Regions from separate parts of the Homo sapiens genome. Here regions 2 and 3 are each linked to region 1. Evidence: promoter capture Hi-C in human tissues and cell types (Jung and others, 2019). All regions are on one chromosome and are shown on one strand. The core of a region is centred on a gene start or on the middle of the fragment in contact, and the rest is flanking DNA. Distances in the headings are between cores, read along the strand shown. Region 1 holds the start of TXNDC2 (thioredoxin domain containing 2). Region 2 has its middle 19 kb from the start of LINC02856. Region 3 overlaps RAB31 (RAB31, member RAS oncogene family).

Region 1 (4,769 bases), core at 1,274-3,773:
TCTTTCACCAGTCTCAGAGCACTCCCAGCCACTCTCTGAGGTGTACATCGTTGCTAGATCTTTAACCTCCTCCCTGCAGGCTGTGGGGCCTGCCCCAGGTCCACACATCCATTCTTACCCTCTACTAGGGGCCACGCTGCACGAGGACAGTGCTGTGTTGGATGTGAAGTCCACGTGGGCTCATCCTGGCCTTCCAAGTGGAGCAGGAGGCAGATGCCCCTCTGCTTTCAGCTGCAAGTCTTTTTTTATCTTTTTTTTTTTTCTTTTTTTGAGAGAGTCTTGCTCTGTTGCTCAGGCTAGAGTGCAGTGGCACCATCTCCGCTCACTGCAACCTCTGCTTCCCAGGTTCAAGCGATTCTCCTGCCTCAGCCTCCTGAGTAGCTGGGATTACAGACATTTGTCACCACATCCGGCTAACTTTCGTATTTTTAGTAGAGATCTAAAATCGCATTTTTAGTAGAGTAGCACATCTGATTAGTATCTGTGCTGGCAATCAACCTGGAGAAAGGAGGCCGGGACACAGGCATCTGTCCTCTTGCCTCCACATCTACTGGGATGGCAGGAGTGATGTTTTCACTTCTGCCTCTCAGCGATGGAGTTCCTCTGTGTCCTCATCCACTCCCTTCCAAACAGCAGGGACCCTGTACAAGATAGGGTCCCAGGAAGTAAATTAACTTACCAATGAGCAAGGGCCAAAGATGCTGCCCACTTTGTGCTAATAAAATCTGCTCATGATGGTTTCTGCAAATGATGCCTATCCTCCCCGCTTCACCTCCTTTCTCCTAACACTAAGAAAGAAGACATTGCCCAGATAAGTGCCTGACGTTTATTTTCATCCTCTGCTTTAAAATAGGGCACCATGAAAAACAGTCCTGTCAGCTGTGGAAGCCGTTGGCATTGGAGAGTGAAGACAACCTCCCGTCCTTTAAAATATCACATAAGAAAGGCCCAAAGTCTCCCAGTGAGAGAGGGAAGAGCTTTCTTTGGCAGTAACCGAGGAAACGGAGTGGAAGCATGAGCTCTTCCTGGAACAGGATTCATATCATCAAGAACTACGGATTTGCTGGGCCAGGCATGGTGGCTCACGCCTGTAATCCCAGCAATTTGGGAGGCTGAGGCAGGTGGATCGTTTGAGGTCAGGAGTTAGAGACCAGCCTTGCTAACATGGTGAAACCCTGTCTCGACTAAAAAAAATACAAAAATTAGCCGGGTGTGGTGGTGAATGCCTGTAATCCCAGCTACTCGAGAGGGTGAGGCAAGAGAATTGCTTGAACCTGGGAGATAGAGGTTGCAGTGAGTCGAGATTGTGCCACTGCACTCCAGCCTCGGTGACAGGGCAAGACTGTCTCAAAGAAAAAAAAAAAAGGAACTATGGATTTGCTAAGGCCAATAGTCTCTCTACCCCTTAGTAAAATGTGTTTTGGTATAAAAATCCAGATAATTGAACCATTGCCATTAGATGTTTCGAGGTTTCTATTGACAATGTGGAGGTCTTATCATTTAGATTTCAACACTTTTATTTTTAGTTTTTAGAGACGGGGCCTTGCTCTGTTGCCCAGGCTAGAGTACGATGTAGTGATCACGGCTCACTGCAGTCTTGAACTCACTGGCTCAAGCAAGCCTCCCACCTCAGCTTCCCAAGTAGCTGGGACAGGCGTGTGCCACTGTGCCTGGCTAGGTTTTGTATTTTTTGTAGAGATGGGGTCTTGCTATGTTGCCTAGGCTGATCTCAAACTCCTGGGCTCAAGAAATCCTCCCACCTTGGCCTCCCAAAGTACTGAGATCACGGTGTGAGCCACCATGCCTGACCACTTTCAACACTTATATTGTTGGGGTGAAACTGAAACATATGAGGATTTGTTCAAAGTACATGTAGAGAAGGCAAAATTCCACACTGATTCTTCCTGCCTTGGACTGGATGTGTTGTGCAGAGTGAGGGTGGAAAATGAGCCAGTGGTCCTGAACTAATAAAATAAGTCTCCCTGGGGGACAGGTATTTGGCTTCCCATTCCACAGGATGGGGTAGATGTGGCTTATGGAACCAGGATTATTCACAAAGAGGTTGTTCTCCTGTATGTAAAGGCTGGAAGAGCCGTGTACTTGGATGTGTCTGCATGGGGGAGGGCACAGGCTGGGCTGGTGCGCCTGGGAGGTGGGGGAGGTGGGGAAAGAGGCTGTCTAGCAGGAGCTGAACATTTGACATTGTGGGACACTTTGCAGAGGAGGCTAACATGGTTTCGAGGAGATACTTAGGAGCTGGTCACAATGGGTGAGTCGTAAAGAGAATGTTGGAGCTGGGGGATCCTGGAGAAAGATGATAAGATGGTTGATTCACAGAACCCAGGCTGGACGGGACTTGTGGCGAGCAGTCCAGCACAGCCTCACAGTGCAGAGCATGAGCTTTGGAGCCTGCCCCCACCCTAGCTTTGTGACCTTAAGTGAGCTACATAGCTTCTCATGTGTAAACTACTCATCATAATGGTTCTGACCTCAGTGGTTTGTTGTGTTCTAGGAAATGATGCCAGTGAATGCGTAGTCCCAGCCTCAGCACAGGGGAGCCACCTTGAAGCTCTCAAATATCACTGTTGTGAATACAGAGAGGGAAAACCAACTGTAACGTGCCACCCAAATGTAAGTTTTACTCATATTTTGATGTTAGGATGGATAGCTTGGAAAAAGTTGGAGGGTACGGCCTTTACTATGAGGCATCTATGAAGGATCAGGAATGGATGTAGACAAGGAACTAGGAATGGAAAGTGTTAAAGCTGGAGCCTCTGGAAAACCAGAAATGAGGCTGGGCACTCAGGAAGAAACAAGTGAAGGTGATGCTAATGGTAAGTAGGGGAGGAAAGAGGGTTGCCTTAAAGACCTATGCAGTTAGGGAGCGGGCAGGGTGTTGAACCAAGAAGGGAAAGTTGTAGCTTAAGAACATGTATACAGAAGATACGTGTAACCACACGCTGTTTGTCCTTCTGCTGAATGAGTTTTTCAGATTAATACATCATTCATCAGACTTCATTCGTGATCTCGAAGAGTGACATCAGTCTTCCTTGGAATATGAAGAGAATTTCTTTGGTTCTTCTTTTGCATTTCTATTTGATTTATTTTATTTTATTTTATTTTATGTTTTTTGGTACAGAAAGCTCATTACTAGTCCTGTCCAGCAACGTGCCTCTCCTGGCCCTAGAGTTCTTGGAAATAGCCCAGGCCAAAGAGAAGGCCTTTCTCCCCATGGTCAGCCACACGTTCCACATGCGCACAGAGGAGTCTGATGCCTCACAGGAGGGCGATGACCTACCCAAGTCCTCAGCAAACACCAGCCATCCCAAGCAGGATGACAGCCCCAAGTCCTCAGAAGAAACCATCCAGCCCAAGGAGGGTGACATCCCCAAGGCCCCAGAAGAAACCATCCAATCCAAGAAGGAGGACCTCCCCAAGTCCTCAGAAAAAGCCATCCAGCCCAAAGAGAGTAACATCCCCAAGTCCTCAGCAAAACCCATCCAGCCCAAGCTGGGCAATATTCCCAAGGCCTCAGTGAAGCCCAGCCAGCCCAAGGAGGGTGACATCCCCAAGGCCCCAGAAGAAACCATCCAATCCAAGAAGGAGGACCTCCCCAAGTCCTCAGAAGAAGCCATCCAGCCCAAAGAGGGTGACATCCCCAAGTCCTCAGCAAAACCCATCCAGCCCAAGCTGGGCAATATTGCCAAGACCTCAGTGAAGCCCAGCCAGCCCAAGGAGAGTGATATCCCCAAGTCCCCAGAAGAAACCATCCAGCCCAAGGAGGGTGACATCCCCAAGTCCTCAGCAAAGCCCATCCAGCCCAAGCTGGGCAATATTCCCAAGGCCTCAGTGAAGCCCAGCCAGCCCAAGGAGGGTGACATCTCCAAGTCCCCAGAAGAAGCCATCCAGCCCAAGGAGGGTGACCTCCCCAAGTCCCTAGAGGAAGCCATCCAGCCCAAGGAGGGTGACATCCCCAAGTCCCCAGAAGAAGCCATCCAGCCCAAGGAGGGTGACATCCCCAAGTCCCTAGAGGAAGCCATCCAGCCTAAGGAGGGTGACATCCCCAAGTCCCCAGAAGAAACCATCCAGCCCAAGAAGGGTGACATCCCCAAGTCCCCAGAAGAAGCCATCCAGCCCAAGGAGGGTGACATTCCCAAGTCTCCAAAACAAGCCATCCAGCCCAAGGAGGGTGACATTCCCAAGTCCCTAGAGGAAGCCATCCCACCCAAGGAGATTGACATCCCCAAGTCCCCAGAAGAAACCATCCAGCCCAAGGAGGATGACAGCCCCAAGTCCCTAGAAGAAGCCACCCCATCCAAGGAGGGTGACATCCTAAAGCCTGAAGAAGAAACAATGGAGTTCCCGGAGGGGGACAAGGTGAAAGTGATCCTGAGCAAGGAGGACTTTGAGGCATCACTGAAGGAGGCCGGGGAGAGGCTGGTGGCTGTGGACTTCTCGGCCACGTGGTGTGGGCCCTGCAGGACCATCAGACCATTCTTCCATGCCCTGTCTGTGAAGCATGAGGATGTGGTGTTCCTGGAGGTGGACGCTGACAACTGTGAGGAGGTGGTGAGAGAGTGCGCCATCATGTGTGTCCCAACCTTTCAGTTTTATAAAAAAGAAGAAAAGGTGGATGAACTTTGCGGCGCCCTTAAGGAAAAACTTGAAGCAGTCATTGCAGAATTAAAGTAAACATGTATTCTGAAAACATTGCAGACAGTCAGGTGTTTATAGCTTTTGAGTTCTCTTTTATTATTTACACAAAGTGA
Region 2 (4,769 bases), core at 1,433-3,932, 220 kb before region 1:
TTTATTTCTCACAGTGCTGGACGCTGGAAGTCTGTGATCAGGGTGCCAGCATGGTCAGGTTTTGGTGAGAGCCCTCTTTCAGGAGGCAGACAGCTGACTTCTCATTGTATCCTCACGTGGAGGAAAGAAGAGGGCCAGCTCCCGGCGCGGTGGCTCATGCCACCACTTTGGGTCATCCAAGCACTTTGGGAGACCGAGGCAGGTGGGTCACCTGAGGTAGGGTGTTTGAGATCAGCCTGGCCAACATAGTGAAACCCGTCTCTACTAAAAATACAAAAATTAGCTGGGCATGGTGGCAGGTGCCTGTAATCCCAGCTACTCAGGAAGCTGAGGCATGAGAATTGCTTGAATCCGGGAGGTGGAGGTTGCAGTGAGCTGAGATCGTGCCACTACACTCCAGCCTGGGAGACACAGCAAGACTCCATCACAATAAATAAATAAATAAATAAATAAAGAAGAGGGCCAGCTCTCTGGCTTCTTCTAATCCTATCATGGGGGCTCCACCCTCATGATCTAAATACTTCCCAAAGGCTCCACTTCCTGGTACCATCCTACTAGGAGTTAAGTTTCAACTTATGAATTTTGGGGGTACACAAATATGCATTATTGTAAAATGGCATGGTACTATTTATAATTGTGAAAAAAATGCTACAACTTAAATGTCCAATAATAGAGACAAAATTTAAGTAAATATAATTATGAAGTTATATAGCTATATAGAAAAGAGTTTTAAATATGCTATTTAAAAGATAATACAATTCTATATAGACACGGTCACATCTGTTAATAGATTCCAAGAAGGAAATCGGAAGGAAGCAGGAATGTGACCACATAAATCTGAAATTCACAAGAAGAATAAATAGATGCAAATAGTAATGTCAATTCTGAAAAAAAACAAAGAAGCAGGACTACTCTAAAACATGTTATAAAGGGTTCTGGTGATTATTGCTGCATAATATATCACTCCAAACGCAGTATCGCAAGAAACAATAGTGATTTTACGTCCCATGTCTTATGAATCTGGAGGGTGGCCGGGCTGGGCTGGGTGGCTCTTCCTTGAGGTTCTGCATGTGGCTGCAGTAAGGTGGGAGCTGGGCTAGTATGGCTAAAGACTTGCTCCCTCCCAGGCTGGGCAGCTGTGTCCGCTGGGAAGACTCAAAGGGCTGAGGGTGGACCTGCTGGGTCCCGGGCTGCCCCTGCCTCTGTGTGGTTCCAACATGGCAGTTTCAGGGCTGCTGCGCTTCTTACATGTGGCTCGTGCTCAAACGCCCGTGTCTCAAGGGAGCCTAGAACAAGCTTTGTGACCTTCTCTAGGCTAGTCTCAAAAGTCGCATGAGTCACCTCCACTGCAAAGTACTCCTGAGGCATTCAAAAGGGCCTGTCCAGTTTGAAGGGGAGGGAACACAGCCTCTCCATCTTTCTGGAGGAATGTGAAGGTTCTAGAAGGTTCACGTGGGATGGGAAATATTATTGCAGCCATTTTTGCAAAAGACAGCCACATAAAACTAGAATAATTAAATAGCATTGTAGCAGTGAAAAATGAAACTGATCAATGACACAAAAAAAGCCAAAAAACTGGACCGAATATATTTACATTTTAATATGTGATTAAAATCACATCAATCTCAACTTAATGAGATAGAAAAATTATTCAATTAATCATGCTATGACAATAGATGCATTAAGGAATTCAATGTTAAAAAAGTAAATCGAGGCCGGGTGCAGTGGCTCATGCCTGTAATCCCAGCACTTTGGGAGTCTGAGGTCCAGGAGTTTGAGACCAGCCTGGGTAATGTAGTGAGATCCTGTTGCTACAAAAAGTAAACATTTAAAAATTTAAAACCATGTAAAAGGCTTAAAAAAATTAAAACACGGAGAGGGGTAGGCCACTTCAGAAGCTTAAACGTTGTGGGAGAAATCCCACAGGAACATTTTAAACAATTACATAATTATGATAAATGTTTAAGTCCAAAAAAACCGCATTTTCCAAACAACAAAGGAAATAAATTACAAATTCAGAGATATATTCTAAGTAAATATGAAAGAAAAATAGTTCATATTTTATTCAGAATTCATTCACATGGAACAAGAACAGACAATTTGCAATAGAGGACGTTTTTAAAAGCCTTTTAAAAAATTGTTCTAAAATACATAATACATAAACTACATAATATAAAATTTACCTTTTTAGCCATTTCTAAGTGCACAGTTGAATGGCATTATGTACATTGACACTGTTGTGCAACCATCATCACCATCCACCTCCAGAACTTTCCATGTTTCTAAATTGAAACTCTGTACCCATTAAACAATAACTGCCATCCCCACTGCCCCTAGCCCCTGACAACCACCTTCCTACTCTCTGTCTCCGTGAATTTGATTACTCATATACCTCGTATAAGTGGAATCACAAAATATTTGTCCTTTTGATGTCTGGCTTCTTTCACTTAGCGTAATGTCTTCAATGTCCATCCACATTGTAGCATGTGTCTGAATTCCCTTCTTTTGAAGGCTGAATAATATTCCTCTGTATACGAATCCACCACATTGAGTTTATCCATGCATCCATCAAAGGACACCTGAGTCGTCTCCACCTTTTGCTACTGTGAATAATGCTGTGGAAAAATAAATGGAATGCTTCCATCACTATCTTATTGCCAGTGGGAGCTAATTGCTCCCTTTTCTTAAAGACGTGATTATAGTTTGTCTTTTTTCCTTTCTTCTCCTTGATATTGGATGTGACCTTGTTGGCTGATGTACTAATGTCTCTAAGGTGCAGAACACTGAAACAGGATCTCAGCAGAGCTGGAGGAGCATGGGCCAGGCCTGTGATCTGGCTTTGGGGACTATGGCTTCGCGACGTGACTTTCACAGGCAGCTGCTGAGTCTAACTTGGGGTTATGTTTTTTGAGAGAGTGAGGGGTGCATAGGAGTTTAGGTCAGTTGTGTTAGGGGCGTTTCTAAACAGCTGGAGAAAGGGGTGTGTATGTAAAATATAGAAGGCTCTTTCTCAAGGTCTTTCTCCAGGGTCCATGTCTGAATGATTTTGTATAAACTGGACCAAGTAGTCTCCGTTTCTTTTGTAATTTTAAACTTGGAATGAAGAGACCCAGTGTGCAGTGAAGAATGAACCTTACTCAAAGAGAAGACTGGCCTTTGCCCTCAGCTACTGGGAGGTGGTTTCTAGGCCACTGGAATGTCCTGCCTTTGTCTGGCCGGAGGTTTTCACCACCAGACAGTCTACCAATGTGATTTATGATGGGGGATGTGGGCTACATAGGATGGATTCTGTCTCCAGAAGGGACTGGAGACTAAAGTTACCAGACTGATCTCCAGGAGGGGGTAGAGACTACAGGCCAGCCATGTGGTCAGTATGCTATGCTATGGAGCACCAATGGAAACAGTAGGCACCCAGGCTCTGGCGAGCTTTCCTGGTTAGCCACACTCCATGTGCATTATTCCATCATGGCTGGAAGGAGCTCACTGTGCTCATAACAACACAGAGAGGATGGTCAGAAGCTCCACAGGCGGACCCCTTTCTGGACTCTGCCCCACGAGTCTCTGCCCTTGGCAGATCTTAATCCATTTCCTTTCTCTGTAAGAAATCATACCATGAGTATAACAGCTTTTGGTGAGCACTGTGAGTCCTTCCAGCTAGTGAATTATCAAAACTGAGGGTGGTTTTGGGAACACCCCCCCAAACTTTCAACTGGTGTCAGAGTAAGGACAGTCTCTTGTGGGGACTGTCCTCTCTAATTGCAGTGGTTAAGTGTGCACCCTGCTTCTGGAAGTCAATGTTGCTGAGTCTCACAGAGGGCGACTCTCTATGGAGAAGCCCACAAAGCCTGCTGCTGGGGTGCTCAGAGCTGCCCTCATGTCTCCACTTTCTGCTTCTCTCTTCCTATGATTCTGTACTTATCCAGAGCTTCCCAATAAATTATATACTTTCTTAAGCTGTCCCAAATTGGGTTCTGTTATCTGCAACTAAAATATTCTTAACTGCTCTGGATACATAAAGGGACAGAAATGATGTGTAAAGGGACAGCACCAAGCATTTATCCTGCCTCCCTAATGAACTGTATTTCAGAGTGAACAGTTGATGGGAGAAGTGCTTCTTTTTAAAATAAAATTATTTATGGTTTTTAATAACAGAGACGGGGTCTCAATATGTTGCTCAGGTTAGTCTTAAACCCTGGGATAAAGCAATCCTCCAGCCTCAGCCTCCCAAAGTACTGGGATTACAGGCGTGAGACACCACACCTGGCCAAAGAAGTTCTTCTTTATAGAAGAATCAAAGTTAATCATTGCAGGGGATGTGAGGCAGATAGAATTTGAAAATTACCATGTTACCTCTGCTAATGAAATAGTAGATAGAGGCAATGATGAAGCCTGTCTTCTAAAGCCGGTAGGTGAACAGGCAGTGGGGAACAGGTCAGGCTAACGACAATGAACCACTAATTGTCAGACAGACAAGAAGGCACTTCCTCATGAGATGCAATAGGAACTACAAGCACCATCTTTGAAGTATTTTTGTCCCCAACCAAAATGAACCTGAATAGAGTACCAACAAACCTCCAAATCCAACTATCCATTTCCAGGAAATACGAAGAGCATATTAAACAACCTACAAGAATATAATCAACCAAATCCAGATTGGGAGAAATTCTACAGAAAAATTGTCCAGATGTCTTCAACAAATGGCAGGTATAAAAAGGAGAGGAGAGGAAAATTGTTAAAGACTACAGGAGTCTTGAGACCATTCATCAGCT
Region 3 (4,769 bases), core at 1,652-4,151, 130 kb before region 1:
CCATAAGAAATAGATTACTTTTCTTTATAAATTACTCAGTTTCAGGTACTATAAATAACAGAAAATGGATGGAGACAGATACCTTGGCTCTGAGCTTTTTTCTTCCTTGGCTTTTGAAGGCCTCTCCTGGTCCAGTGTGGATTCTGTAAAGCTTTTTTGAAGGTCTTTTAGCAATGAAGAAAGTATGTACTAGGAGATGAAGGCATGGGAATTGGCTCTAACCCCATTTCTACAAGTAGCGCGACTGTGAATTGTGGTGGGGCTCAAGTTCTTAATGTGTAAAATGGGAACGATGATACCTCCCAGAGTCATCAGAAGATCAAATACAACCATGAACGTGTTTGTGCTCTACGAGCTGTAATTCCTAAAAGATAGGTAGGTTAAGATGAAGAAAAGGCATTGTTGAGTTTCTCATGAACTTCTGATGCAAGGCGTGTTCTAGTGTATCATGCGTAAGGAATCTTTTCCAAGCCCGAGAAAAACTATCCGGTGCCAAGTGCATCACCACTGGGCATAAGTAGTCCCACCCAAGACAGGAGGGGTGCAGGGCTCCTGCCACTCTGCGTCATGAAGAGGAATTGAAAACAAAACTCCATCCTGTTGAAACCTTGAGGTCTAGCACTATATCTTGTCCTTGTTTGTGCATCTTACGTGCTTATGCAATAAGGTACTCTCAGCCCTCAGTATCTGTGAGTTCCATGTTTGTGGACTTAACAACTTTGGATTTCAAATACTGGGAAAAAAATTGTGTCTGTACTGAACAAGTACAGACTTTTTTCTCTTTTTTTTGAGATGGAGTCTCACTCTGTCACCCAGGCTGGAATGCAATGGCACGATCTTGGCTCACTGCAACCTCTGCTTCCTGGGTTCAAGAGATTCTCCTGCCTCAGCCTCCTGAGTAGCTGGGATTACAGGTGCCCGCCACCACACCCGGCTAATTTTTGTATTTTTAGTAGAGACGGGGTTTCACCATGTTGGTCAGGCTGCTCTCGAACTTCTGACCTCAAGTGATCCACCTGCCTAGGCCTCCCAAAGTGCTGAGATTACAGGCGTGAGTCACTGCACCCAGCCCAGACTTTTTTCTTGTAATTATTCCTTAAACAATATGGCATAACAACTATTTACATAGCATTTATGTTGTATAGGTATTATAAGTAATCTAGAGATGATTTAAAGTGTACAGGAGGATGTGCATGGGTTATATGCAAATACTATAACATTTTATATCAGGACTTGAACATTCTCAGATTTTGGTATCTGCAAGAGGTCCTGGAACCAATGCCCCCAGGATACCGAGGGACAACTGTATGTACTGTTGAATCTCCAATGTCTAACACAGTGCCTGGTGTGGCCTAGACATGGAATATGTGTTTAGTGAGTGGAAGAATAAAGGCATTACCATACCTGCTTGTCTCTCTGGCACTTGTCACAGGATTGCAAGCCCAGATGGTGTTTGTGAAGAGGCAGGAGTAGGTACAGTATGGAGGTCTACAGCTTGGGTTTCTGAGGCACAGACCAGGTTTTCCCAACTGTTTTCCCAGCCTGTTTTCCCAACTGTAAGGCGTCACACTAGTAAGTCTGTCATAGAATTAGATTGAAGATTAAATGAGGTGATGCAAATGAAAAGAGTCTAGCATACAGGAAAGCTTAACAGAATGTTAACTATCATCACCATCATTACTAATAACATGATTAGTGGTCTTAATAATTCATAGATATTCATGATGTGGAACTTGGAATCTCATTAGCTCCGTTTTGTCTTGATGTCTGTGACTGCCTTCTCTTGACTTTTCCCTTAGTCACCATTTTTTACTGCATTTTCAACCCAACTGGCCACATGTGCCTGCTTTGTAGTCCAGGTTCCCATCAGTGCCCTTGGCCTTACCCTCTGTGAGCAGGAGCTTCGTACTCTCTAGCAAGGTTTCAGATTAGTTTTCTGTGCTGGAGGAGTTGGAGGCATTTTTGGTAAGCTAAGGCTGTACTTGAGGACTAATGTCACGCTGTCAATTTTAGCTCATTGCTGTGATATCCAGCATAGCAGTAAGGAGCTGATCTGCAGTCACTTGCCCTCCTCTTTGAGCTTCAGCTCTTCTTGGGCTGGGGAACAGTTGAGGACACTGTCCAGGAACCAGAGACTGAATTTCCATGGCCTCATGGCAGCAGTACATGGATTTAGGTTGTTACCAGGAGGTTTGTCCACATGTGAGGCTGTCTCTGTTTTCATTGTCAGTCCCAGCCGTCACACCCCCTCTCTCCTTTGAATGAATGAAAGATGCTAGCGTGCCTCATCTCTGACCTCAGGAGGCCTGGACAATGGAAGAGGAAGTGGGGGCTTTTGCTGCCCTCTGCTCAGAGGCTGCAATGTGGCGTGGATTCTTCTGGCAGCTGTGGTTTAGGCTGCCTTGTGTTTCCTGGTAAAATTTCTTAAACTAAGAGTAATATTTTAGCATTTTTCTCCAAAGAGCATAGATTGAAGATGAGGGCTTAGTAATTTCCCTTGAGTTGGAAATTCATTGATGACTTTTATTTATATTTTGTAATGTCTGTTAAATACTTGCAGAAGTGCTGGATGATTGGAGAAGCTTTAAACCATGAGAAGGTCATGTGAGCATGGTAGTTGTGGGGATGCAGTAGATAGGGAGTTAGGGTTTTCTCAAACTCTGTACTCCCTCCCTTGCTTCCACATTCCTTTCCTCATGCAGTGCGATCAAGTATAGACCCTGATATAGTTAACCTTCATGAGTATAAGACAATTCCTAATACATCATGAGTCAAAAACCATTATTATTTAACTAGAACAGTGTAGAGTCAGGAAAGCAGGTAAGTTGTGGGCAGACTGTAATATCCCCAGCTTATAAATAATGTGGAAGTGTATTGACTGCTTGCTCTTCTCTGTACAGTTTGCAAGTGTGCATATATCTCATTTGATTAAATCACATCTGTTGTAATCTAGTGCCCTGATTAAGAGATTACAGCAGTTAACTGTATTGCACAGGACCTTGGCTTGGCAGTCGGCAAAGCCTTGAGCATTAATTCATATTTGTGAGTGGTCTGAGGATGCTGACTTTTCAAATTTATTATGGTTGGGATTTATGAACTGTTTCTTTTGTCTGCTCTATAGAAGTGAGCATGGAATGTAAGCCAAGCTGTCATTGTGGAGTCTTAGTGTTGATACGATAGACTCTGGTACTTTAAATCAGGCCACTGTCATCTATGATAATGCTTGGCACGTAGTAGGTGCTCAATAAAAATGCAGCAAATGAATGAACAGCTCCTAAATGGCCTTTGTTTCCAGTTTTGCTTTCCTCCAGTCCTCTTAAAATTCCACCACTGTGTGGTCTCATTGGCTCCCATTGCCCTCAGAACAAAGTTCAAACTCCCTAACGAAGTAACTGATGGTGCCCTTGGCTCCAGTTGTATAAGTTTAGGAGTCTGTTCTGATTGATTGGTGCCTTTCTGCACTATGGGTTTAGCTGACATGCTCCTACCAGAGTTTACGTCTTAGCCTGCAGTACATTCATTCCTCTCTTGTTTCTGGGTTATTTCTCCTTGGTGGGCATGTCAGTATGAGTTGGCGTTCAGTCAGGAAGCAGAGCTACTCTGAGTGTTATGGGAAAAGGAATTTATTACAGTAATCCCACTTAATACCAGTGTGGGTGGCTGGGGAAGGGGATGCCTGGGAGTCAGAGCCCGAAGATCAGAGAAACATCTCAAAACAGCAGCACCCGGCATGGTGGATGGTTGTGGCTCTCAAGGAAGCTCTGAGAAGCCAGAGGTGCCCAGCAGGGAAGCCGGCCTGCAGTGGGGACATGGAGCAGGTGCCTGCGGGCAGCCACTGCTCTGCGTAGCTCCTGCCTCTACACCCTACATTGGGAGGACCGCTGTTGGGAGAAGAGTCAGACACAGAAGAGAGGAGTGGGGACAAGTGGGGCTCTGCTGGGAACCTTGTCATCTCTGTGTGCTAAAGACCTTCAGAGAGTAATGCCCAGTCTTTACTTCCTGCAGATTCCTTTTTTGGTCAACTCTAGTCCAGAACTCTATGGAGAAGGGGCTTCTGGGAAGTGAGTGGTGTTCCTAGCTTTAGCCACGTTGAACCTAGGATGATCCAGGACACCGCATGCTGGGTCTGTGTAACAGTGTCTCTGTGGGCTGTGTGGACATGTGTGTGCACATGTATGCATGTGCATGTATGTGTGTGTTCATGTGTGTGCTTCAGATCCCCTTTGGGGAATGTGCAGGAATGTCAGAAGTAGGGAGATAGAGCCACTGGGTTAGGGCAGAGGGCGAGAGGCCCTCTTTGAGGCCACCTGTGGAGGGCTAAGATGACTCCATCCTGGATGCTAATCCATCATGTCGGCTTCTGATTAACTCCAGTTCTGGCAATGCCTCTAAGATTTCTATTTCATCTTCTTCCTTGTGTAAGAGCATGTACTTACCATAAATCTTGTCCTTAGGTCAAAACAACCTTGATGTTATCGTACTTACCGTAAATCTTGCTGTAAAGCAGTTGTTCCGCACATCCCTTCTGAAGCACGGACACTGTCCCCCTGTGGTGCGTAAGCCCTGGGCCTGGGGATGGTAGCACAGGGATCCCCCATTTCGCCTGTGGGCCACCCGAGACGCGGCTCCTGTTCATACGTCCCATTAAATGTTGCTCTCTGAGAAACTGGATTTGTTGCCTCTTTCTTCGACCTCTCAGTTCCCTTGGCTTTTGGCAGTCGGTTTGCAAAATGACCTGCTCACCACGGAACCAGCTCATTCCAGTCAGA

What was found. The method cuts DNA at HindIII sites, captures the fragments that hold promoters and counts their contacts. A contact is called where the count stands out against the background at its distance.
Region 2: a fragment that was not itself captured here is called in contact with the fragment with the promoter of TXNDC2 in region 1 in 3 of the 25 tissues and cell types used here (heart left ventricle, lymphoblastoid cells and mesenchymal stem cells).
Region 3: a contact is called between a fragment that was not itself captured here and the fragment with the promoter of TXNDC2 in region 1, in 2 of the 25 tissues and cell types used here (adrenal gland and mesenchymal stem cells).

Annotation. Positions count from the first base shown.
Region 1 is chr18:9,883,450-9,888,218 of GRCh38, forward strand. TXNDC2 (thioredoxin domain containing 2) reads left to right here and starts at 2,524. Exons shown (of 2, transcript NM_032243.6): 1 at 2,524-2,631; 2 at 3,140-4,769. The coding sequence starts at 3,232. The coding sequence ends at 4,692. The HindIII fragment of the contact is 24,551 bases long and covers 1-4,769 here.
Region 2 is chr18:9,662,289-9,667,057 of GRCh38, forward strand. No RefSeq gene overlaps it. Among named protein-coding and RNA genes, the nearest start is that of LINC02856, 19 kb to the left of the region's middle. The HindIII fragment of the contact is 4,849 bases long and covers 259-4,769 here.
Region 3 is chr18:9,753,509-9,758,277 of GRCh38, forward strand. All of the region lies in intron 1 of RAB31 (RAB31, member RAS oncogene family), which reads left to right. Among named protein-coding and RNA genes, the nearest start is that of RAB31, 48 kb to the left of the region's middle. The HindIII fragment of the contact is 7,328 bases long and covers 1-4,769 here.